Linked DNA regions of Homo sapiens: all the other regions are linked to region 1. The links are contacts of gene promoters, found by promoter capture Hi-C in blood cells and fetal thymus (Javierre and others, 2016). All regions are on one chromosome and are shown on one strand. The core of a region is centred on a gene start or on the middle of the fragment in contact, and the rest is flanking DNA. Distances in the headings are between cores, read along the strand shown. Region 1 holds the start of LINC01550 (long intergenic non-protein coding RNA 1550). Region 2 overlaps BCL11B (BCL11 transcription factor B). Region 3 overlaps BCL11B (BCL11 transcription factor B). Region 4 overlaps LOC105370660 (a long non-coding RNA gene).

Region 1 (6,284 bases), core at 2,871-5,370:
GTTCTGAGTGGAATTCATTGGTGCTGATATCGCAGGCCCTAGGAAGTTGGTGTTTGCTGGTATCGTTGTAGATACTGACAATCCAGGGTGATAGTCAAGCTATTTTAAAGCTATTAAGTTTAGGGCACTACCAAGCAAAACTGACACTTGACCAGTCAGAATGGCTGCTGGCTGTCAACCATTAGAGATGCCTTAAAGGGAATTAGCATTCTGCTGATAAAGAAGGTATGGTGGTTGCTGCTATTCTAGTTTTCTGTATGCTGTTGTTTGCAGGGTACTCAATAGTTTGGATTATTTGTCAGCTAAAACTCATTCCCCTCTTCCCCAATACTACCGTGCAGAATTTCCTTCCCTACTTCCTGAGGTTGGGCTTGGCCATGTGGCTTCACCTAACCACTGGAGTGCCTGTGGACATGATGCAATCAGAGACCTTAGATGTGCTTGCTCTTCTCTGCATTTAGGCTATAACATGTCTGAGGTAGCTGTCACCCCTTAAGCTGGGATCCCAGAACAAATACACATTGAGTGGATGAGAACCCAATCTATAGCTTAAAACCATGCTCAGGAGACATGCAGTCTGCAGCAGAGCTGATCAGCTGAGACAAGTCTAGCTCAACAGAACCACAGTAAACCTAGAAACCAATGAGCGTGAGAAGAAATACTTAGTCTTTCAAGCATCTGAGCTGGGATGATTTGTTATACAGCATTATTGTTGCAATTGCTGACTCAGGCAGGATTGTGAAGCTCAGGGTATGGCCTTTGAAACTGCATAATTCCAATCTTTGGCTCCCTCAAGTTTAGTCTCCCCAAGTGTAATGCAGCCACATTTATGTTTTCTTGCAAGACTTTCGCTTTAACCAAGAGTTTCAAACCTGATTGTCATGACCATGCTAAATGCATAATGGTATCAACAACTAGTGCAAAATGCCCTAAACGTAAAGTGATATGAATATTTATACACAGTTCTCTGGAAGTGCGCATGTTTGTTTCCTCTGGACCCCATGGAAGATATTATTACAGACGGTCACACTCCTTATGAGCTTCATTGACTCATGTCAGCATTGGTGATAAACAGATGCAAACGGCAGTATAGAGAACATTTGGGATGCAAAGCTCTAAGCCAGTGTTTCAGGCAACACTCTCTGGGTGGTTTTAACAAATAATAACATCAAATAATAAATAATGGTATCAACTACCACTATGGCTGTTGCATTTTTTGAGTGCCTCCCTTGGCCGGGAACTGTGTATATATTACTCTAACCTATTACTCACAATCACACTCTAGGGAAAGCATTTTTAACCCCTGTTTTTCAAAAGTGGAAAATAAGACTCAGAGTGGTTAATAGATTTATACAAGGCCACACAGCTAGTGGGTGGCGGAGTGAGCAGAATTTCCATCTGACTCCATCTCCTTCCAAAAGTACAAAATGCACAAAAGTACGAAAATGCTTTTATTATGGATTGAAAATTTCTATCCCTCCAAATATATATCCTGAGGCTCTAAACCCCAGTATGGCCATATTTGGAAATGGGGGCTCGAAGGAAGTAAGACTTACTGAGGTCATAAAAGTAGAGTCCTGATATGATAGAATGAGTGTCTTTATAAGAGACACCAGAATGCTATTTCCCCAGGCACACACACCAAGGGAGGGCCATGTGGCTGTCTACAAGACAAGAGGTGAGCCCTCAGCAGAAACCAGGCCAGCCAGAAATGATCTTGGACTTGTCAGCCTCCAGAACACTGAGAAAATACATTTCTGGGATTTAAGTCACCCAGTCTGTGGTATTTTGTTATAGCAGCTCAAGCAGACTAATACATGTCAGTCCTGAGTTAATAATATTTCCCAGGAAGTCTCAGAGTACTATTAGGGAATGGCCCTTAAATACATGAAGTGCATGTATTAATTCCCAGCCTACCTCCTTCACCCTACATAAAGTGCAGAAAGGGTCAGGGTGTCACAGGGCCCGTTTCCTTCAATGCGTCTGTGGGAAGGACGTGTAGGTGCAGCCCACGATAGCTCAGAGAATGAGACCGGCTTCAGCTTGACCCTTTTTGCTCCAGGAAAGCATGATGTGGATCATATCTTACTTTACTCTCATAGAAATTTGCTGCTTCCTCATGTATAAATAACTAATCATGAGCAGCAGTGTGCTCCCTGTCAGAGCCTGATCAGGACCATAGAGGCAAGTGGGACTCAGCCTGGGTCTTCATGGCTGTGGGAGCCATTACTGCTCTCTGTATTCCAAGTGGAACAGTCCTGGTGTAAGGGTCTTGTTTCAGTGTCTGTGAGCATGAATGGGTGTGCGTGTGTGCACACGTGCATAAGAAGCTTGTATCCTTTCTTCTTCTAGTGAAAGGAAATCCCCTGTACCTGGGGATTGGGGGAGATAGTGAGGTGTTGGGGAGCAAGAGAGACTACAGGAAAAGATGAGGTGCTGAGGCCCACCAACCTGTTTGTCCTCACCCTTTCCATCTGCTGAAAGGTGCCTATTGGGCGTAGAATTGTCTCCAGCCCACTTCATTGGACCAGGTCATCCCAGTTAGCCTGACTGTCCTGTTTGCAGGTCAAGTATAGAGGGAATTTTGCCACAGTAAAACATGCTCTATTTTCAAGTCATATGTGAAGAAAAAATAAATGAAGGAAGGATGAGGAAAAGACCAAATGCTGCCAAGTGTCCACTACAAGCTCTGGTTTTCTGCGGGGGCCACTGAAAGGTGTACAAATTGTTCACCATAAGCCAAGGACACAAACATGTGTGTGCGTGTGTGTGTATGTATGTGTGTTTGATGCCTTAGCACAGCTCGTGTTTGATGCTTGTGATGGTTCTATTTATAAACTTTGTGCTCTCAGATGGGACAACCAGAGGCACTTCTTTCCTGCATTTCAAGTGTTTCATTTCCTTTTTAACATGTCTTTTAAATTAAGGGCATGCACACCAATGCATGGGCTCACTCTCATCTTACGGCAAGTTGATCAGACTAGGGTTAGTTGTCTGAGAAACATGGGTGGCCTTTGTCACAAACAAGAGGAGAAGCAGTTCAGGGAAGAAGAAGACTAAGGACTAGCACTGTTGTTTTGGTGGAGTTGTTTGTTAGCTGACTGTCTACAAGGCACATGTTCTATCGAATATTCAGTGTTGGGTGCTGACTGTGTTACGAGCCTTGTACATAGGATTTAAACCCCAGAGCCACTCTGTGAGGCCAGAATTGCTTTGGGATCTTTCAGATGAGGGAACCAACGTGAAGGCTTTAAATCCTATGTCCAAAGCCACACAGCGAAACCAGAGTGAAATCCGGAGCATTTGAATCAAGAGTTGAATCTTCTTTCCTCCCCGGAGGGAGAATCGCCCAGGGGCTGAGTGCAAGGGGAAAGGCTGGTTCTGAGGGGAAGAAGCTGAGCATGTTGCGGCACAGGACTTAGAAAAATTTAGAAGCATCTGCAATTGTTTTCCAGGGGAAGATACCCAAAAACAATCCAGAGAAGGAAATAAAACGAGAAGAATAGTAAGGCAACATGGAGTATAAAAGTTGCTGCATTTAGGGCGAAGGAGAGAACCTCTCTGCTCCGTGGCGATATTAAAGCTATCCCCAAGAACGGGAGGTGGGAGTGGCCTGAGGGATGACTCCTCCAGCACTGCTGCCTGCCAGCTCCGGGCTGCACAGGGCTGAGCCGGCGCCAAGAATGCCCTCTTCTGGTGATATTCTCGAAGCCCAGGAAGATAGCAAGGCAGCCGAGACCTGTGTTTTCCAGATCCTGGGTAGATTCCCTTGTCAGATGTGGTTCTACTTAAGCAAATATCACTACCTTCTCTTTTTCCTCCTCAGCCCTCAAACTAGTGATAGGGAAATTATTTCAATAAGGTAAGCTGTACCTTAGTAGAGTTTGCTTCCTTTTTTTTTTTTTTAACCCCGAATAATACTCTCTATGTCATCTGTATATTTATGATAGCTCAAAGACATGGGTGTGTGGATCTAATTAAAAATGTGAAAGGGTTTAGCAGCCTGCTGCTTCCCTGCAACTCTCTGGTTGCCAAATCTTGGCAGCCGTGTTGAACTTGAGCCAAGCGTTTAGTCCTCAGCTGAACTGCTGCCAGCCTGCGCACGGCATTGTGGGGCGAGAGCCGGAGGGGCTGCACTGCACCGAGCTTGCACAGGGCGAGGCGGGGGCAGGACCTGGGACCCAGCCACCCCGGAGGAAACCGGAGAGGAAACCAGCTTGGTCTTGCTCTCTGCCTCGTCCCAATCCCCGGCTCTTACCAAATGCAGGTAGGACCAGCTAGGCCAATTTGGTGACCGGGTAGGGCTTCAAGCTACTAGGTGGGAAATGGTCCCTACAGTTTTGCTTTCATTTAGTCGAAATCGGGCCTTTTCAGAGGAGAAACAGTTCTCCACTCTCTTGCAGTAGTTTGGGCCTGAGTTTCAACAGTCGGATGGGGCATTTCTATTGAGTTCTCTGCTGTCAGTCTGAGCTTTTTTTGATAGCTTGGCAATTGTTCTGTGTCTTCTCTCTGAAGCAGCTGAGTCCAGCACAGGGTTTCTCAAACCCTGTTGTGCACACATGTCACTTGGGAAATCTTGTGAAAATGCAGGTTTCTGAGTCTCCCCGGGGAAAGGGGAGAATTCATGTTGCCAAGATCAGAACTGACTAGAACTGCTTACGTTCCACATTATGACTCCAGACTGGAACTTTTGTGAATTCAAGGATGTTAGGCTCTGGAAAAGTACATCTTGGTGATTTGCTGTCAGAGGGAAAAACAATTCAAAGAACTCAGCATTCTCCACAATATGTTGACAAAAATAAGGGGAAAAAAAAAACATCAAAGGCATGGGTCACTTTTTATTTTTTTTTGAAATGTACCAGCTATAAGCAAATTAAAGAGGAAGAAAGGGTCGTATTCTTTGTATACAGAACACCCTCCTGCAGAGTGAAAATTCAACCCTAAAAAGATCTTCTAATATACTTGAGGGGCTGAGAGAGAGGATGAGGGGGGACTTTGCCTTTTAACTTTATATCTTGTGTATTGTTGATTTTTCATGATGATGCATTTCTTTCGTAATTAAAAGAAGAGGCAGCAGCTGCAAGACGGCCCAGGAGCCTTCTTGGCAGTGACCTTCCCCAGGGCAGGCCACCAGGGTGGGGCAAGTATGGACTTTGAAACCACTTTGTCCTGGAGTGGAAGCAGGCTCTGGCATTAAGCTTGGGGAATTTGGCTAACATTGCTGGGCCTTTGCAATTTCATCTGTGCAATGGAGAAATTGGGCCTTCATTGAGGCACAGCTGTGGGTGCCGCAGACATGTTTGTGCGGGGCTCATACCCAGGGGTCCTTAACAGGCGTTTTAAAAATTCAGAGTCTCTCTCCGATGGGGTTAGGACACTATTCCAGATAGAATTTCACCCCGGCAGACTGCTTCTGAGCACAGATATGTTCCAAAACCTCCGGATAGGAGCTAATCACTTTAGAAGTCACAAAGCCTCTGTTCATGATGTTAGAGGAGCTCCCCAAAAACGAGGCCTTGGGGAATAGCAGTGAATTTTCTCTTTCTTTTCAAATGGCAAATTTATACATATGAAAAGTCTAAATGACATGGCAAATAAATCACAAGTAGTCATAATTTAGCCGGCCACTTTTATTATGAAACAATCAAAAGCATGCAGTCGGGACGATGGAGGGAGATGCAGGCTGTGTGGCCCCTGTGCAATTAGGGGGCTGATACTTCCTTCATATCCTAAGTTGGGATGGCATGTCGCTTGCTTTGTGGTTTGGAATAATGCAGAACTGGCTGTTTCTATCACAGAAAGAGGGAGAGGGTGTGTGCCGCCAAGAATCAGGATATTTCCAGGAAAATTTCACTCCAAGAGGCTTTCTTGAATCTCATTCCTAACATGTGGGCAGATGATTGTCTAAACCACTGAGGGATGATGCTGGAGGTAAACATCTAATTAATTAAAGAAAATCTCCTTCTGCACCCCAACTCCGAAAATGCCCCGCAGTTGAGAAACACTGACACACACTCACCCACACTCACCCACACACTCACCCACACTCACACACACACTCACCCACACTCACACACACGCGCCCACACTCACACACACACTCACACATACACTCACACATACTCACACATACACTCACACACTCACCCACACTCACACACACACCCACACTCACCTACACTCACACACACTCTTACACATGTATTTGTAAAAAAAAACTCCCTGGTGACTGAGTCCTTCGGTCCACCTGCGTTTGTTAATTCCAGGTTACAAACACCTTGATC
Region 2 (6,178 bases), core at 1,158-3,657, 1.2 Mb before region 1:
GGAAGCTCTCGAGATGGGGCCATCCTCGGTCCTTCCCTTGCAGTGAATGGGAGTGAGTATGTGATCCCAGGCTAGCCACTTACTTCCTCTCTCCAATCTTCAGTGTCCCCACCTGTAAAATGGGGACACTGAAGTACTTGCTTACCATCCCTCTACTGGCAGGTCCCATGAACAGCTACCATCTGGGCGTGGCCACAGCCCATGACCAGCACCTGGGGGAATCAGAGGGAAAAGGCCGGTGGGAAGGGAAGGAGGGAGAAAGCTGAGATGCCGGAAAGCCTTGTGAGACTCTGGCCTTGGGTAATCGGCACCCCAGTGACGACTTAGCTCTTGGAAAGCCACTTGCCTGGGAGAGTTTCTTAGTGTGAATGAAGGCAGAGGAAGGGCCAACATCATCAGTGTTCCTGGGGCTTGCCACTGTTTGCTAAAGGGCCGGCTCAGTCCTAGGCATGACATCTCATCGTTGTAACGCTCCCAAGAAGAGGCACTCCCCCACCCTTTTGCTTATGAGGATATTGGGGCTCAGAGAGGCCACACAACCCACCAGGGGTCACACAGCACACAAATAGCAGAACTTGGACAGAGAGTCTCAAAACAGAGATTCAGACTCAGGTCTGGCCAGCCTCCCAGCTGTACTTGGAGCTCTCCCGTCTGGCTTCCCACTGGGCTGTAGTGGACAACAGAGAAGGAGCTGCTGGTAGAAAACCAAATCAAACTCTGATATGGTACCTGGGAGGGTCCTGAAGGTCTTCCTTCATGCACTGGTCATCCTTGTGCCAGACCCTGGGCTGGACTGAGGGATCCGGAAATGGGCATGACGGGGTCCTTGCCCTAGAGGAACTCACCGTGGTGGGGGTGCCCATGGAGGGCCTTCTCACTCAGTGGATGTGAAATGCATGTCCCCATGGCGCCTTTCTCTGTTTGAAAAAAATGAATCAATTGGCTGCTGCTCGGGTGCTCCCTCACTTATTGCCATGGTGCAGCTCAAGAGCAGATCTCAGGATGGAGAGGTGTCCCACCTGAGGACAGCTTGTCCTTGTGGTCGCATTGCTGAGAGGTGGGGGGTACCTTCTGTGAGGATTTTTACCTGAATGAAGCACAAGTGGTGCCTGACTGCATTGGAATCCACGTGATTATTGGCGTGTTTTTGACTCTCATTTTATCCAGTGGTGCATTGGGCCCATGGCTGGTCCATAACCGCATGTTATGTGGAAGAAGCGAGAGAGTAATGGGTTTTCCATGAAAGGTGGTGCTGTTTCTGGAAATGGGGCATACATATGCTCATCCTCATGGAGCAGCGCCGTATTAAACAGAATTGTGTGAATTGAAGGTCACCTGGACCACTCTTGGAAAATGCTCCCGACCCCCATGGGGTTCCTTCCAGAGAATTTGTGTTCTCTGTACCTGAGATCAAATGTGTGTCTAAGCAATTCTGGCCCCTGGCTCCCACCACCCTACCCTCTCCACAAAATAATAGACATTAGGGGAGGTAAGGGAACAGAAGAGGTCTCTTTGCAGATATTATATTTTTAAAAAATGGTTCTATGTAATAAGCAGCAGCTAAGGAGACAGAAAGACAGTAGATGAAGAGAGTGCCAATATCTTCCATGGGGAAAAATGAATGAACTGAAAGAGAATATTATTTTTCTAGAATACAGAAAGCTGTCCTCTCACAGATCAGCTGGAATTCCAAGGTGGATTATGGACTTCTTCTAACTCCCATTGATAGTGCTTCTTACCAGGTGAAGGGAAGGGCTACTTTTTCCTAAAGGAGAAAAAAGCTTTCAGACAAAGCTCGTACCAACCCCTGAACTGCAAATTTGCTCAAGTGACCGTGCATACTTATATTCCTAATTTAAATGATTATTTATGTCAAACGCTCATTGTGAAACTTGAAAATGTTGTATTACATTACATCAAATAAAGTTTACTTGTAGCAGACAGAAAGAGAGAAAGAGAAAGAAAGAAAGGAAAGAAAGGAAGGAAAGAAGGAAAGAAAGAAAGAAAGAAAGAAAGGGAAATAAAGAAATTAAAGGGCTGGGCTTACAGGAGCCTGGAGGGTTGGGAGATCTACAGGGGTTTTACCACCGGGGAACTTGAGGCTGAGGGTCCAGTCACTGTGGGCAGTGACAGGTGTGGATGTGGTGTCTTCTGGGAAGGGGCCTGCTGACAACAAGCTTCCTCCAGCCCTGGCTGGACATAGAGGGAAACAAAGTCACCGATCCTCAGTCCACCAGAAGGCAGTTTTGACCTTGAAGAAGAGGGCTAGAGCATGAGCGAGATTTTCTCATCGGATCACCTCAAATTGGGTTTTGGGGTTCTGACTGGGAGTCAGGGACTTGGCATGTGGTCCCACGCCAGCCTTAACCAAGTCGATTTCCTCGACCAGGCTCATCTCTGTCTCTCCAGTGGCTGGGGCGGGGATGAGTCCCAGCAGGTGCCCAGGAGATGCTGGGGGATGATGAAGACTCAGAAAAGGCAGTGTCTACACCTGTGAGAGAAAGAGGAAACACAGAAAACGCTGCTAGCCACATTCTTGTATGAGCATCCTCCTTGTTTTTGTACACAGGACAGTGGAATCCATTTTTTTTCCCCCACTGGGGAGCGAAAGAAATAATAGCCCTTAAAAAAGCTTGAGGTGTTCTTTGTTGTTTTTATGGTGCGGGGAGAGGGGAACAAAATGTACTTGACTTTTCGAACCTGAGGGCAGGGTCGGGGTGGAGGGGCTGTGTTCTGTGTATATTTTACAATTAAACCCAAATAGTCTAAACCATGAGATACAGTTTATTCAAACATAATCAAGGCTGGCCACTTTTACCCAAAAAGCAGTGGGACGGAACCCTCGGTGGGCAGGGGTCCCTCTGTGGGGCCCAGCATTATGCCAGGGAAACCAGATCAAACTCAGATATGGTTCCCGGGAGGATCCCCCAGGTCTTCCTTCATACGCTGGTCATACATGTGCCAGACCCTGGGCTAGACCCTAGGGTCCAGAAATGGGCGTGACAGGGTCCTTGCCCTAGAGGAACTCACTGCGATGGGGTGCCCAGGTGGGGCCTTCTCTCCCAGCTCTGAATTTGGGCTTTCCAGGCAGCTTCTCTTGTAGTTCACAGGTGAGAGGTGACAGGACCGCTCCTGGTTTTCGCAGATGCGAAATTGCTTTCCTTGCGCGTCTGGTGGACGGCACAGGTGGGATTTGAATCCAAGCCTCCTCGAGCCTGGGGCCCACGTGGGCATCCTGCTCCTGTCCTTGCGTCTGGTCCTGGCCTGCCCCTCCCGCCTGGCCTTGTACCTGGCAGGTGTGAGTAGGAACAGCCAAGGGAGAGGAGTGAGCTTGTGAATCACAGAGCTGCCACTGGGCCAGCCTGAGCCCCGGGTAATTAGAACGCCAGTATTGTATGATTCTCAAGGAAGGGATCGTGGCGCTCAGGACTTCTCCAGGGAGGTGAATGCAAAAATGGAGTCAGTACCTGCAGAAACGGGGGCCGCTGGAATCTTTTCATAAAACTGGACATTTTAAATGATTGCCTTTGTTAAGAAGTGAGGAATAGCTAGTGGGGCAAGGCCCACTGGGTGCGTGAGTCTGCTCTTGGTGTTGTATTTAACCAGTTCTGACTCAAGTTCTTTTGCATGAATTTCCTTGGGTTTTATTAGCCAACTCAGTTATTAACATTTTAATCTTAAAAAATACCTTTGATCAGGCCAGTCGCGGTGGCTCACGCCTGTAATCCCAGCACTTTGGGAGGCTGAGGCAGGCAGGCGGATCACAAGGTCAAGAGATCAAGACCATCCTGGCCAACATGTTGAAACCCCATCTCTATTAAAAATATAAAAAAATGTAGCTGGGCGTGGTGGCGGGCGCCTATAGTCCCAGCTACTTGGGAGGCTGAGGCAGGAGAATCGCTTGAACCCGGGAGGTGGAGGTTGCAGTGAGCCGAGATCACAGCATTGCACTCCAGCCTGGGCAACAGAGCGAGATGCTGTCTAAAAATAAAAAAAATAAATAAAATAAAAAATACCATTGATCAAGGGTCCACTGTGTGCTGTGGGCTTTCTGTGTATCTCCAGTGATTCTCACAATGCTTCGATTGTGAGTTTTTTTAATTGTGGTAAGATAAACATTAGATTTACCATTTTAACAATTTTTAAGTGCACAGTTCGGTGGCAATAAGTACATTGCAATTGTTATGCAGCCATCACCACCGTCCATCTCCAGAGCTTTTCCATCATCCCAAACAGAGCTCTGGCACCATTAAACACTAACTTCCCATTTCCCCTCTCCCCAGCCCCCCATTCTCCGTTCTGTCTCTCTGAATGTGACTACTCTAGGTTCCTTAGGTAAGTGGAATCATACAGTGCTTGTCCTTTTGTACCTAGCTCATTTCACTTAGTATAGTGTCTTCGAGGTCCATCCATGTTGTAGCACGTGTTACAATCTCCTTCCTTCTTGAGGCTGAATAATATTCTATCATATGGATAGACCACATTTTGCTTATCCACCCATCCATTGATGGACAGTTGGGCTGCTTTTGGCTATTGTGAATGGCACAGCTAAGAACGTGGGTGGACAATAATCTGTTTGAATCCTTGCTTTCAGTTCTTTTGGAGTTTCTGCGGAAGTGGAGTTTCTGCGTCAAAGGGTAATCCTATATTTAATTTTTTGAGGAATTGCCAAACCGTTTTCTATAGTGGCTACGCTGTTTTACATTCTCACCAACAGTGCACAGAGGTTCTCATTTCTCCGCATCCTTATCTGACTGTTGGGTAATTTTAGTGTTTTTTGGACTGTTGGAGTTGATAGCCAAGGAACCTGCCTCTCAGGGATGTGGCAACAACTGGTCCAAGTTAGGTGGGTAATAAACCTGAGGGCGGTTTGAATCCAGCCTCAGCCAGCCTAGGTGTGGCCCTATAGTCACCACTGGACTGCTGGGGGCTACCACCTTCAGTATATTTTAGTTGAGGGTCTTGAATCCCCTTTGTCTTGGAAATGGTTGCCCATGGCAGTTCTCAGTTCTGTCTCCCAGGACAGCTTTTTTTTTTTTAATTTTTATTTTTTATCTTTATTTTTTATAACAAAGCTAAACATTTAGCTACCTTGATAGCTTGGGGAAGAAAATTCTACAAATGGACAATTTTCATTGTTCTTTCTGTTGTGTCTTCAGGGTGTTGATTTGAGTGTGACTTAGCAGAAGGAGCCCCGTATTTGGAATCAGAATCCCTAGGAGCGAGATAGAGCTCACTCGGTGTCCTGTGCACGCTTTGGCCCTCTCTGAGCCTTGTGGGGTCTCCCTGCCTGATGGGAATCATCACACTGGTTTTGCTTCCTTGGCTGGGCGGGGAGGGACTGGGGACAGGGAATCTCAAGGGAGTGGCCTTGGGTCCTTTGTATATCGGGATGGTAATTGCGATGATTCTTATTAGTGGTTGTGCTTTCTCTCTATTGTCCTGTATTGGTGTCCCAGGGCTGCCGTAGCAAATGGGCACAGACTGGGTAGCCTAAGACAATAAGAAATTGATTCTGTGGTCGGGTGCGGTGGCTCACGCCTGTAATCCCAGCACTTTGGGAGGCTGAGGTGGGTGGATCTCTTGAGCCCAGCAGTTCAAGACCAGCCTGGGCAACATGGCGAAACCCATTCTCTAAAAAAATTAGCCAAGAATGGTGGCATACACCTGTAATCCCAGCTACTGGGGAGGTGGAGGCAGGAGGAGCCCTTGAGCCCAGGGAGGTTGAGGCTGCCATGAGCCGAGATCGTGCCACTGCACTCCAGCCTTGGGCAACACAGTGAGACCCTGTCTCAAAAAAAAAAAAAGAAGAAATAAAAAAAAGAAAAGAAATGTATTTTCTCACAGTTTGGGAGGCCACAGGTCCAAGATGGAGGGGTCGGCAGGGCCGTGCTCCCTGATTCCCTGCCTCTGTGGGCACACAGCTTTCTCCTCTGGGTTTGACTTCTCTTCTGAACAATTAAAATAAAAAAGACAATTGTCTTTGGATTCAGGACCCACCTAGACCATCCAGAATGATCTCATCAACAGCCTTCACTTAGTCACACCTGCAGTGACCTTGCCCCTAAATAAGCTCACATTTACAGGTCCTGGGATCTAGCTGTGGACAGCTTATTTCAGGTGGCTCCATCCAATCTTCTCTGCATGCCTCTTGCTGGATTCTAGGCCCTTCCAGGGC
Region 3 (6,298 bases), core at 3,249-5,748, 1.3 Mb before region 1:
TATCTTTTTTTATTATTAAATCATGACAGCTAATTATTAGTTCTGTCTGCACCGAGGAATAGTGCAGTGTTCTGTCTGAGGGACATGGCCCTGGGCTCAGGCTGGGGTTTGGGTGTTGGGATGGCTGAACAGGGCAGAGTTTGGGCTGGGCTGGTGGGTGGTGGGGAAGAGGGGCGCTACCTGGTATTCCTCATTGTGCTAGATGCTTTTCTTGGGTTATCTCACTTAATTCTTCAACCTTGAAATATATATTTCTAACCCTACTTTGAACTGGGGCTCAGAGAGGTTAAGGGAGTTGCTGAAGGTCACACAGCAAAGCAGAGTCAGACTCAGTCAGGCCTAGTTTCCTTGGATAGCAAGGGGTGTGGAGGATTTTGGGGATGGGTATTCTAACTCTGTCTGTCTGGCTGGTGGGGCCTTGATGGCGGGCACCACCTCTGACCCCATCCAAAATGGTCTTTGAAGCCCATCCCAGATATGACCCTGTGGATACAGCCAGAAGTCCTCAGACCCCCAGGGACCATGGCCTTCAGTCTGTGGCTTTTGTATATACTGTCCTGTACTTCCTAATGAGGGCATTGGAGAGATGGGTGGTGACAAAGAATGAAGTACACTGTAAATTCAGGTGCACCTGGGCCAGAATTTTAGATTTTTTCCCATACATATGATTATTTCTTTTATTTTATATTCACTGTTGCATAGACTTTTCCCCCATAAATACAAATTATTTGTTTTATTTTGTGGAATTGTGGTTTTGCCAGGGTCTTGCTATGTGACTGTCAGCCAACTGTTTGCCTCCCCAGGTCTCGGTACCTATAACTGGAGATAATGTTCCTTGTGTTTTGGGCTTGTTATAAGGTTTGATTCAGACAAGGTATACATAGAACAGGTTCCTGTGGGTTTTAGCTGTTGTTGATAATGGAGATCCTGCCGGTGGGATCCAGAGGAAGGGTCTGGCTTCCTAGCCTCCTGGAAGGACCTTGCTGCCAACTCTTCCCTTCTCACCTGCTCAGTGACTTGTCTGAACTTACATAACTAGTTACTGGCAGAGCTGAGTCCAGACCCCAATTATCTCGAGTCAGGACAGGTGACTTTTTGCCATCCCAGGGTGCCCACCCCTGTAGCTTGAGGCCATCTCCCCTGGTGGAGTCCCAGTTTCCTCAGCTGAGAAAGGGGGTGAGCCCTTCCTGTCCCACTGGCCTTCCAGGGAGGCGGTGGACCCACCTGCCATGTGAACTGTGCAAACCAGAGTCAAGAGTGTGTGCCGCTAACATGGTGACATCAGCACCGATTGTAGTTGAAAGTTTTATTGGATTAAAAAAAAGACAGACAATACTGGTCACATAAATGGGTGTTTTTTTTTTCTCTTAAGGTTTGAGGCCTTATTTATTGTTTTATGTACGTAGTTCCATACTTCCAGCAGTAATTCAGGAAACAGGAGAGAGAGATAAGGTAAGAAAAAGAGAGAAAGGCAGCTGGGCTCCCAAGGGGTGAACTTAACCAACATTCAGCCTGAGTTAATATTATTATTCTTAGTTTGTCTATTTGACAGTAAATAGTTAGTATTGACTAAAGTTTTTTTAATCAGGCATTTGACAGCTTTTTTGAGTGGTTGTTGCTCATTTGCATGCTTGGCTAATGAATTAACCACCAGGTCTAGAATCTGTTAGGAGTGGGCTCTGCTGATAATCTATAGAAATAAGGCTGACTGGCTGTCACCCTGTGCCTTTGGGGTCATCTTTTCACTGAGGAAACAAAGAGATGGAGTTTTTCCTAATTTCATGTAAAATTTATTTATTTATTTTTGAGACAGAGTCTCGCTGTCGCCCAGGCTGGAGTGCAAGGGCGCGATCTCAGCTCACCAAAACCTCTGCCTCCTAGGTTCAAGAGATTCTCCTGCTGGGCACGGGGGCTCACGCCTGTAATCTCAGGACTTTGGGAGGCCGAGGCGGGGGGATCATGAGGTCAGGTGATCGAGACCATCCTGGCTAACACGGTGAAACTCCGTCTCGACTAAAAATACAAAAAATTAGCTGGGCATGGTGGCGGGTGCCTGTAGTCCCAGCTACTCAGGAGGCTGAGGCAGGAGAATGGTGTGAACCCAGGAGGTGGAGCTTGCAGTGAGCCGAGATCATGCCACTGTACTCCAGCCTGGGCGACAGAAGGAGATTCCATCTCAAAAAAAAAAAAAAAAAAAAGATTCTCCTGTCTCAGCCTCCTGAGTAGTTGGGATTACAGGCGCCTGCCTGGCTAATTTTTGTAGTTTTAGTGAGATGGGGTTTTGCCATGTTGGCCAGGCTGGTCTCAAACTCCTGTATTCAGGTGATCCACCCGCCTCGGCCTCCCAAACTGTTGGGATTACAGGCACGAGCCACCGCACCCAGCCTGATGTTAAATTTAACTCATACTTACTAGATCTTACTGTGTGCCAGACACTATTCTAAAGACTCTGCAGATACTAACTGGTGTAATCCTCCCTATGACCTTATGATATGCTAATATCAGCCCCACTTTATAGAAGAGGAAACTGAAGCCCAGAGATGTTAAGTTATTTACCCAAGGTCACACAGCGGTGAGTAGGGTCCCAGGGTGTCAACTCCGGCAGTTATGTTCTTCACTGTGGTCATAACTGTGCCTACATTCCATCCACCTCTCTGCCCCACGAGGGTGGTAAATCAGGTATTCCTTTCATTTTGCAGATGAGGCAACTGAGTCATAGAGAGGTACCTTGCACAGTTGTCCGGTGAGTCACCAGCTCAGTTGCGCCTAGAGACCAGGCTCCTGGGAGGGAGAGCATTAGGAAAAATAGCTAATGCATGCTGGGCTTAATACCTAGGCGATGGGTTGGTAGGTGCAGCAAACCACCATGGCACACGTTTACCCATGTAACAAACCTGCACACCCTGCACATGTACCCCAGAACTTAAAATTAAAATTAAAATAAAAAAAGAGGACAGGCTCCTGACTTCCCAGGGAGGCCCTGGGTCTTCACTGTGTCATGTCCCAGGAGCCCAGGCCTCGTGGGATCCTGTGTTCTTGAACTGTGGCTGGTGCAGGCCCTTTCTGCTCCTGGCTGGGCAATGAGTGATTTCCACTCTGAGGTCGAATCTTGGTGATGGGACTTGGGTTCCAGAGTGGGGTGAAAGAACCAAGACAGTAGGCACCCACCTGTCCTGCACACATCTGTGGTTTCATGTTGACTGCATTTTGGGAGGAGCTGGCCCCCACCTCGTCATGAGTTACAGGCAAGTGGCCCTGTTGAGTCCAGAGTGGGGAGAGGCAGGCACAGTGGACTCTGGCTCGAGACCTAGGATGGCATCCTACTGTGGCTGGCATGCTGTGTGACCTTGAGCAGACAGATCTTCCCCGTCTCTGGGGCTGAGCCTGCTGGGCTGAAATGTGAGATGGAGCCACCAGTGGTTTCTAACAGCTGCAAGAGCCAGGCAGAAGGTCGTGCATTTCCCACCTCAATTCCTTTCCCACCCAGTAGTTCCCCCAACTTTCCTCATTTTTCACATTAATGAGGCTTAGGAGTCAGTTTTCTCTGAAGAAACTGGTGGTGAAAATGAAAACTGTTAGATTGAAAGCTTAGGTCTTTCTGCCCCAGGCTGTGAAGATCCTTATGGGAGAATTTGGTCCACTCACCGTGAGGTAAACAGTTGAAGCTCAGAGCCCCTTGTGTGACCAGGCCCTGTCCCTAATGTCCCTGTGTGGTTTGGCATTCTTTTCTTTGTGATGAGTGTACCCTGAATTGTATAAACCTCGGGCCCTGCAAGATCTGGACCCACCCTGGCCCAGAGCCTGCTGGGGGCGGCCAGTGACCTCTGGGCACACAGGGAGTGGGAGCCTCCTCAGGGGAGGGTGTGATCAGGACTTGCAAGCCTCGAGTTGGACCCAGGGAAGAAGAGGCCTTGCTGGAGAAGGCAAGGCACCCGAGGCTTCATTTTATTTTGTTTTTGAGTTTTCTTGACGCCTTCTTGCTGGTCCGCTGGTTTTGGTCTGGAGGGCCCTGGGGTGTCTCAGAAAGGAGGAGTCTGTGCTGAGGGTTGGGAGAGGAGAGCAGGGAGGGAGGGAGGAGGGAGCCCTTGATCAGCCACAGGTCTGGGAAAGCATCTGCCCCTCGCTGCTCAGACAGCTGGGAAACTGGGACCACAGCCTCCTCTGGGCGGAAAAATAGTAACAAAATAGCCTTTTTGTTGGAGGTGAAAAGTCAGACTCCCCCACTCCTGGTGTGGAGAAAAGGCAGCAGCCAAGGGCAGGGTGAGCCCCCCAGCCCAGGACCGCCTGCTCTGTCTCTAAGCCAAGGCAATGTTTGATCAGGGCTGTTTTCCCCCCATCCCCTGCCCTGGGGGCTGAGTGCCTGGGCAGCTTCCATGGCCTTCAGGTTGCGGGTGTGGACACAACCTCAAAGGTGCAGGCAAACAGGTGCGTGGGTCAGCGTCTGCTGAAGATGAATCCAGAGGCACAGAGCCCTAGGAGCTGGTAGCCCCAGTGCCTAGGCTGTGCCTCTAGTGATATGGCACAGATGAAGCCATCCGTCCAATCCACAAGAGTGTCCAGAAAACACGCGTCTACCTCCTGATGACTGCAGGTGCCAAAGGCATCCTGGAAAGGAGTGGAGAAGGTGGCTTTATTTCAAAGCCTTTTTCAGGGTAGAGCACACCTCCTGGAGAGTGTAGCCAGCCAACCAGGGATTCCAGGCTCCTCCCTTGGGGTTTGAGGGCAGAGACTGGCTGTCCTGGGCTCAGAGAGACAACAACTGTCTGAATTCTTCTCTGTTCGGGAGAAAATGGGACAAACCTTCAGTGACTCCCTGCCACCTTCAGCAGCTGGCTAAAAACTGTTGGAGTTGGTAAACCCAGCAAAACTAAGTTTTCCTGGGGCTGGAGCGGGTTCTTTTCTCCTCCCACCTCAAGTTCAAAGCCAGCCAATTAAGAAAGCTAAACAGTGTGGTCTTCTCTCTGCATCATTGGCTTGTAAAACTTTCCCTGCAAACTAGGCGACTTTATTTGTTGGGAAAACGAAGTATATAATTTTCCTGACCTGGCCTTTGCTTTGGGGAGAAGGGGAAAGAGAGAAAGAAGTCATTTCCAGAAACAGACGGGCCCCGAGGAGCAAAACAAGGTCCACACTCCAGCGTCAGGGCAGCGTAGACTGCAGCGCTGTGGTCTGGAACGCTGAAAACAGCGTGTTGCGGGGAGGCGGGACGCGAGGCTCCAGGCTGCGGAGCCCTCTGGGGCCTGGGTCACTGTCTGCGAGGTGGACATCGAAGTCCTCCCAATTCTGCTTTCGAACCTCTGGGCGCCACCTGCCTCCCCGCTACTGCAATTTTCCGGTTTCCCCGACGTTTGCAACTTGCAAGTCTCCTCTCACTTCCTTCCATCTCCAGCAGCCCCTCCTCAAGCTTGGCCTCCTCCCCTCCCCGCGACGGTGCCTATCCCGAGCAAATCATACCCATCCTCTCCGCCGCCCGCAAGACAGCCTCCCCCGCCCTGCCCGAGGGGTCTTCAGGCCCCTCCCTCCAAGGGCTCAATGGTTGGGGTCCATAGCCCCCTTCATTGCCACACAGGAGAACACAATGGCCTTCCCCGAGGCCAGGGGCGCAGAGCTCCGCGGGGGCGGCTGCATCTCCCGGACCCCGCACCCGGCACGGCGCGGACACTTTGGCAACTTCAAAACTGCGCGGGGGCCTCCCCTGCGAGCGGTGCCCCTTTCCCGGCTGGCCCTGGCCGGGTCGGGAGGCTCCTCGGCACTGTTCCCAGGCCTGCGGGCGCGCCTGGCCCCCGCCTGGCCGCCGGCCTCTGATTCGCCCACGGCCTTGCGCCCATCGTCCACCTCCTTCCCTCTCTCTTTGACCCGCGCCCGCTGCGCACGTTGATTGTGCCTTGGTGGGGCGGGAGGGCCGAGAGGGCTCAAGGTCCATGCATAATTCGGGGGCTTAATGGAGCAGCTGCCTGAGCCGGGCGGCGAGGGGCGGGCGGAGGCGCAGCTGACCCAGCCCGCGTCTGGCCTCGCTGGGAAGGCGCGCTCCTTTCTTCCTCCCCTGACACTCCCCTCCCCCACTCGGCCTGGGTCCGAGGAAGGCGGGGGGTGGGCGAGTCGAAGGGCTAGCTTTGGGAAGGGGTTTCCCTCGTGCATCCGTGCAACTTTTGCTTTGGGGGGCGGGGGGCATGCAGTGAATCGGAGCCGCCTCGGGACCGGCTCCTGAAGGTGGTGGAATGCAGGCTTCCTCGGAGCACTCTGCAGCCCTGGAGTCTTTTTTCCCGGCTCCTTTCCCCCCCGCCCCCGTCGGTCCCCA
Region 4 (6,456 bases), core at 938-3,437, 1.3 Mb before region 1:
AGCCACCGCGCCCGGCTGGCCTTGGATTTTCTAGTTTGCCTGTGTATTAGGTCTTGTAGTGAGGTCCAGCTGGCTCAGTCACTGATACCCTCCTATGTGCCCGTCACAGGCACAGGAGACAAGGTAGGATCTGGACTGTCTGCTTTGAGAAGCTCAGAGCCCAGTGACCTGCTACTAGCAGATAACAACTATAATGTTTTCCTCTGGGTATTGGCAAAGGTTAGCCTGGTCCTTGGCACAAAGTAGGTGTGCTATGATTTGAATGTGTCCCCTCCAAAATTCACGCTGAAACTCAGTCCCCATTGTGGTGGTATTCAGAGGTAGGGCCTCTGGGGAGATGACTGAGTCATGGAGGCTCTGCCCCATGAGTGGATTAGGAGAGAAAGGGCTGGAGGGAACTAGCTTAGGCCTGTTTGCTCCTCTGCCATGTGAAGCTGTCGTGTTTGTCCACCCTGGAGGATGTGGCAACAAGGCACCATCTTGGCAGCAAAGGCTGGGGCCCTCACCAGACACTGAACCTTCTGACGCCTTCATCTTGGACTTGCCAACCTCCAGAAATGTGAGAAATCAACGTCTATTCTTTTTTTTTTTTTTTTTTTTTTTTTGAGATGGAGTCTCACTCTGTCACCCAGGCTGGAGTAAAATGGCGTGATCTCGGCTCACTGTAACCTCCGCCTCCCAAGCTCAAGCGATTCTCCTGTTTCAGCATCCTGAGTAGCTGGGATTACAGGCACCTACCATCATGCCTGGCTAATTTTTGTATTTTTGTAGAGATGGGGTTTCACCATGTTGGCCAGGCTGGTCTTGAACTCCTGACCTCAGGTGATCTGCCCGCCTTGGCCTCCCAAAGTGCTGGGATTACAGGCATGAGCCACTGCGCCCGGCAATATCTATTCTGTATACATTACGCGGTCTCAGGTATTTTGTTACAGCAGCGCTGAGACAAGATGCTTCATCAATATTAGTCGATTATGTACCAGTGAAATCTGGGGGAAATTTCCCATTTCATTCCTGAAATATTGACGTGTGTACCTTAGACTGAGTTGAATGTGAATCTCTTGTTTCATGAGTAAAACGCCTCCATAATAATATCTATCATTTATTCAATGCCTCCTCTGTGCCAGGCCTGTGCTGGGGGCTTTCTGAGAGGTCATCTGATGAGATGCTCACAGAGGCGTTGATAGAGGAGGACCTGGGATGTCGAGAAGAGAAACCGCATGAAGGCTTTTGCAGCTAGCAGCGGGCGCAGCGGAGACTTGACCCTGGCGATCTCGGAGGCGTATATCAAGCTGTGTGTGCCCTGTCCTGCTTTTCTCACAGGCTGCTGGGAGGACAAACTCAAGTCAGGGAAGCAAAAGGGCTTTGTACACTAAAACTCTGTCCCAACATGAGTTGTTTGTCTGTTTCAAATTTTACCAGCAGAAACGTCTGTCTTACCCCACTCTCTCCACCCCATTTCTCTCTGCCTCAATTATCTGGTTTCATAACCGTGGTGTGTCTTGTTGGATTTTGCTGTCTCAAACAAACAAACAAACAAACAAAATCTCTTCTACTAACTGAGTATACTGTGTCCTTAATGCAAACTTTGTTTCTCTGTAATTCTCTTCCTTCCTCCATGTCTCGATCCAGCACTGACTTTGTCTTTGCTGTTCTGGTTCCACATCTGGTGATGTTTTCAGCTGCCTGTTATTGGCTTGCAGGATGGCTGGAAATCCAACCTGGGTATAGGACGGCATAGTGGTTATACACAGAGACAGACCTGGGGTGATTTGGGCTCTACCTCGTGGTGGCTGACTTCGGGTTTCCTGTCTAAGGGGGATGAAAGTCTTTCTCTTCTGAGGATTAGATAAGATAAATGCCTCACAATGTAATTAGACAGAGTGTCTCTTTGAATGAGTAGGTCTTGAGGGTCTTGGAAGAATTCTGCAATCTGTGCTCAGGACCCCTGAGCCCTGCTGCTTTGCTCCCATGGCACTTGGGACACATGGCCATGAGTCCATGTGATGGGCTGTACTCTCACTACTATAATTGCTGAACTATGTCATCAACTTTTGTTTTCCCTTGCTCTGTTCTTTGGAGCTGGGGTGGTGTGTCAGATTCAGGCTTGCCTGAACTTGGAACCTCAGTACCACCACCTCACAATATTGCCATCTTTGGGCCCTGTCCCCCATGGTGTGCTTGGCATACAGCAGGCGTCCCATCCGCGTGTGTTGTTGAAGGAACAAATCACAGCCATGCTTATGATGCGACTGCTGCATGGCGAGAGACCGGGCCAGGCGCTTTGCTAAGACCCACTCATCACCGCTTATACAGAGCGGTGAAGCCCATCTGACAGGGAGACCACAGAGCCTGAGAAATGAATGCCCTTTCCCCAGCCGACTCAGCCAAAGCCTGAGCTTCCAGATGGGCACCCTGGCAGCATGTAGCAGGCCAGGGTTTGCAGGGCAGGGGAGCCATTCTACTTCAAGGCAGCAGGCAGCCCTCATGGCTGGTGGGGAGGCTACTGACAGTCACTAGCTGTGACTACTAGCAGGCAGGTTTTAGGGAATGACGCCTCGATTTTTCACTTTGAGGAAACCCTTGATGTGCACCGTGGCAGTGGCAGAGGCTAATCGCGTGGATCTGGGAGCTAATGCAGCTGCTGTAATTCCTGTCACCTTCTCACAGCTCAGTGGGAGCTTCCGATGAATAAATCGTGGCATTCAGGGGCTGCATACATCAGTGGCAGGTGTCACCGTCATAGGTCGGGCAGGGCACTGGTGCTCCACCTTGCCTTGTCTTTAATTAAAGGAGGAAATATGTCAGAACTGACAGGACCACTGACCAGCCTACCAGGTCCTTTCCAGTCGCAGTGAAATCAACCGTTAAAGATGCTCATCTCAAGAGGAGAACGAGTCTCTTATGCTTCTGGGGAGAAATCACCATCTGGCGAGGGTTTCCTGGCCTTTGGGGGTCCCCCTGCTACCTCCTCTGAGCCATCTGGGGCTCCCCTGCATTTGCCCCTTACTTGGGAACTGTAACCCTTAGGGATCAGAGGGAGCATGGGAACAAAACAATTCAATAAAGTCACAATAAAGCATCCAAAGCCCTTCATACTTTTTCACTTTCTTTAACTCAATTTATTTTTCATTTTGTGGACAGAGATTTAGTCTGGGTATTAGTTTATGATTTTTACTGAAGGAATTACTCAACACACACACATATAAAAAGGAAATATTATTTTTATCATTTATTTTGTGCCATGTATACCATAGGAGAAAAAAACGGAGCGAAATCACTTCAGTACCGCTGTGTTTTTCATTACAAAGTTATTACATATAGAAATTACTCCAAATTATCTGAAATGAATGGAAATTATGAGGTTTAAATTCCCCAGGTTACTGCAGGCACAGCTCTGGAAATTTATTTTGTCATCTTGCTGAACATAATTGCTACAACAAAATTTCTTCCATTTTACAACTGCAGCATAACTTATTTATACCGGTGTAGCTGTAATTTTACATCAATAAGTTGCATGGGAAGGAATACACAGGTGGTAATTGAAAACAATAATTTGTACTGAGGTCCAGGTGGAACGGTTGGCTCAGAAAAAGGCTCCAGTTATTATCGGCAACAGCTTTGTGTCACTGCGGCCTCTTCTCATCCCCTTAGCCAACACTGGTCAAACCATCCAAACACCTTCAATCACATCCCTGTGGCTGCTGCAGTGAGAGCTGCAAGTTGTCTGACTTTCCACCATGGCCCATGTATTCCGGTCTGGAAAGTGAGGCCACAGGGTGCTGAAGGTACCCAGGGAGGCCCATGACACCTCTGTGCCAGCTCCTGCCCTTTCCTTCTGCTGCTTTCCAACTTGCCTCTTGGTTGGGTGCATTTAGGTACCCGGAGCTAATTAAGGTGTTTGATAGATTTCAATTGGAGTATGAGTTCTTGCCAGAAACATCAACAATTCGATTCCCCAAGCACAATGCAGAGCGTTAAATCCACTAATGCTTTATACATTACTGTGTTCCTTCCCAGCCGGAATGTGTGGTCTGGGTACAATACCAAACCGGTCCCCAAACAGGCGTCCTCACTCTTCAGTCTCTAATTGTTCCTGTTAAGCAGATACAAATAATGAAACTGCAGATGCCTGTGCTGAATCCCAACAGCTGATGAATCTACCCATTTGAATCCAGAGGTCCAAATACAGATTTAAAATAATTGACCATAAATCTGCCTTATTTAGAATCCAGATCATCAGAGTGGTCAGAGATGATCTTTTTTGCTCCTGTCTAGTGTTAATTTCATGATACGTGTGTGTGTGTGTGTGTGTGATGGGGCCGGCGGGGTGGGTAGAAGCGGGGGAGAAAGAGAGAGAGAGAGAGAGGCAGGCAGAGGGGCTTTGTCACAAGTTCAAATGGGAAATGTTATTGCCACATCCATATTATAGAAGCTATTCTTGTTTCAGTGATTCCAAAGGCTTGAAATCACAGTGAAATCATTTTTATAAAAGGATCCAGATTAAACTAATACCAGAATGCACAGCAATCCAGTGTCTCGGTTTTCCCTGGGCAGCATTAATTATCTTTTGTTGTAGCAAATTGTCTGCCTTGTAAATTAAGCTGAAAGTGCATCTTCAAGCAGAGGCAATGTTTTAATATGTACATAATGGAACAACTTTCATAACTTCCACATACTATAGAAATATGATTTCATTTTCAATAATGTGCCTGCAGTTAAAACTTTGTGGTGTAGAGCCTCGTTTGTCAGCTTGCAACCTTAACCCTTCTCTATTAAATAGAGAGAAACCACTTACGTGTTTTCCAGGATACAAACTACCTTTGTTGAATTCACTCGAAAGCATCCGTGGCTGTTTCTAAAACTACAAAACAACAGATGAGCTCCCCCAGAGCTCTCTTTCCTAGCTCTGGAAGGCATATCTGAAACAAGGTGTTGGCTGGTTTTTATTTTTATTTTTTGGTAAGCGCCCCCATTGCAGCATCCTCATTAGCCGAGCCTGTTGGAGGGATGCTAGCCTGACTCATGTCTCTCTCTCCTTCTCTGTTCTTCCATAAGTGAGTGCTTGCTTCCCCCTCACTTCCTTTGTAGTGCATCACAGCACAGATAGGAGTTTTCAAAGCCTGGGATTGGGGGTGGGGGAGACCTCTCTACTGAGTCAGATGTCTACAACTCCAGCTTAGCATTTACTGAAACTTCATCTTTCTCAAACTGCTTAAGGATACAAACTAATTAATCCTCACAGCCTCATAAAACCCTTGTTAGGAAGGTGATCATTACTGCCTCCATCCCTAGTCCTCCCCATTTCCTATCACCAGACACCTCATTGTTGCTCGGTCTCAATGACAGCAGCTGACAGCCAGAGTCGGAACTGAAAATTCCTTTCTGAGTCCCTCATTTGAACCACTTTAACTCTCTTTATTTTCCTTGTCTGTTCTCTACAAAGGGCAGATGGATGGTCAATAGACCACTGAATTCAAACTCACGGATATGTGTGTGTCTTCAAAACAGAGCTCTCAGCATCTTCAGGAAAACGGTCTTCCTTGCAGTTTCAGTTACACAATTTGGAGACTCAGTGACAAAAGAGAAAGCAGCAGAGAGACCCTTTTGCATAACACACACACACACACACACACACACACACAAACACACACGTGCACTCACACCACAGCCGCTCGGATCTCTGTATATGTGAGGGGTGGGGGTGGAATTTGGTGCAGTCTGATCATCTTCATGAACGATATTTCTCCCAAGTCGACCAACTGGGTGATGCCAGTCCCTACCAAATTTGAATTGATGACTCAACTAAAGAATTAAAATTAGCAAGACAAGAAAATTCCAAATGAGGTGAGAAAGCTGTAGAAATAGTTCCAGATCCCCTAGTACTGAGCCATTCAATATCATTTCTGATGACAGGGACAGAGCTAGGAACATTCAATGTGGGTGTGAGTCCTTTTCATATACGGGGAGCTGGGTAAGTATTTTTTAAGGAAAATAATACATGAATCAGGAACAGTGAATTTTATTTAACCCCTTGCAGGCTGCAGATACAAAGGCAGCCGGCAATGATGCCTCAGTTTTCCTACAGCTTACCTATGCCTTATACAGTTAAGCAATGGTCAGAAATGTACTACTGTATCAAGGCCAGGTATTACTTGCAGAAAAAAATAAGGTGCCAATGATGTCATGTTTTAACAAAAGCAATGTTGTTAAATTCAGTACACCAAAAGAATCAACCAAACAACTGTTGAAAGGCAAGTTTTGTGGTCCTGACTCTGCTATCAGGTGACAACGTGAAAAACTCCTCTAAATCCAGCAAAGCTTTAATTGAGTGCTTATGGCTCCCAGAAATTTGCTGTAATTTTCAGAAATGACATAAAATAATTCTAGAAGATACAGCAGGAAGCCCAAAAGGCCTCTTTTGTCTTTTTATGCCTCTGGATTTGATAGCTGCTAAAG

The links. Contacts are between HindIII fragments. The CHiCAGO score rates a contact against its expected background, and 5 or more counts as called.
Region 2: a contact is called between a fragment that was not itself captured here and the fragment with the promoter of LINC01550 in region 1, in 2 of 17 cell types (naive CD4 T cells and activated CD4 T cells). The highest score is 8.2, in naive CD4 T cells.
Region 3: a fragment that was not itself captured here is called in contact with the fragment with the promoter of LINC01550 in region 1 in 1 of 17 cell types (activated CD4 T cells); the score reaches 7.8 in activated CD4 T cells.
Region 4: a contact is called between a fragment that was not itself captured here and the fragment with the promoter of LINC01550 in region 1, in 5 of 17 cell types (non-activated CD4 T cells, activated CD4 T cells, total CD4 T cells and 2 more). The highest score is 8.3, in non-activated CD4 T cells.

The regions. Positions count from the first base shown.
Region 1 is chr14:97,975,960-97,982,243 of GRCh38, reverse strand. It overlaps LINC01550 (long intergenic non-protein coding RNA 1550), which reads left to right and starts at 4,120. Exons shown (of 3, transcript NR_015430.2): 1 at 4,120-4,267. RefSeq lists an enhancer at 3,621-4,120. The HindIII fragment of the contact is 2,868 bases long and covers 2,333-5,200 here.
Region 2 is chr14:99,218,675-99,224,852 of GRCh38, reverse strand. The region is part of intron 3 of BCL11B (BCL11 transcription factor B); the gene reads left to right. Among named protein-coding and RNA genes, the nearest start is that of BCL11B, 50 kb to the left of the region's middle. The HindIII fragment of the contact is 455 bases long and covers 2,180-2,634 here.
Region 3 is chr14:99,245,934-99,252,231 of GRCh38, reverse strand. The region is part of intron 2 of BCL11B (BCL11 transcription factor B); the gene reads left to right. Among named protein-coding and RNA genes, the nearest start is that of BCL11B, 23 kb to the left of the region's middle. RefSeq lists an enhancer at 4,525-5,421. The HindIII fragment of the contact is 1,817 bases long and covers 3,590-5,406 here.
Region 4 is chr14:99,276,406-99,282,861 of GRCh38, reverse strand. It overlaps LOC105370660 (a long non-coding RNA gene), which reads left to right. Exons shown (of 3, transcript XR_001750881.2): 3 at 1,125-2,851. Among named protein-coding and RNA genes, the nearest start is that of BCL11B, 7.4 kb to the right of the region's middle. The HindIII fragment of the contact is 8,266 bases long and covers 1-6,320 here.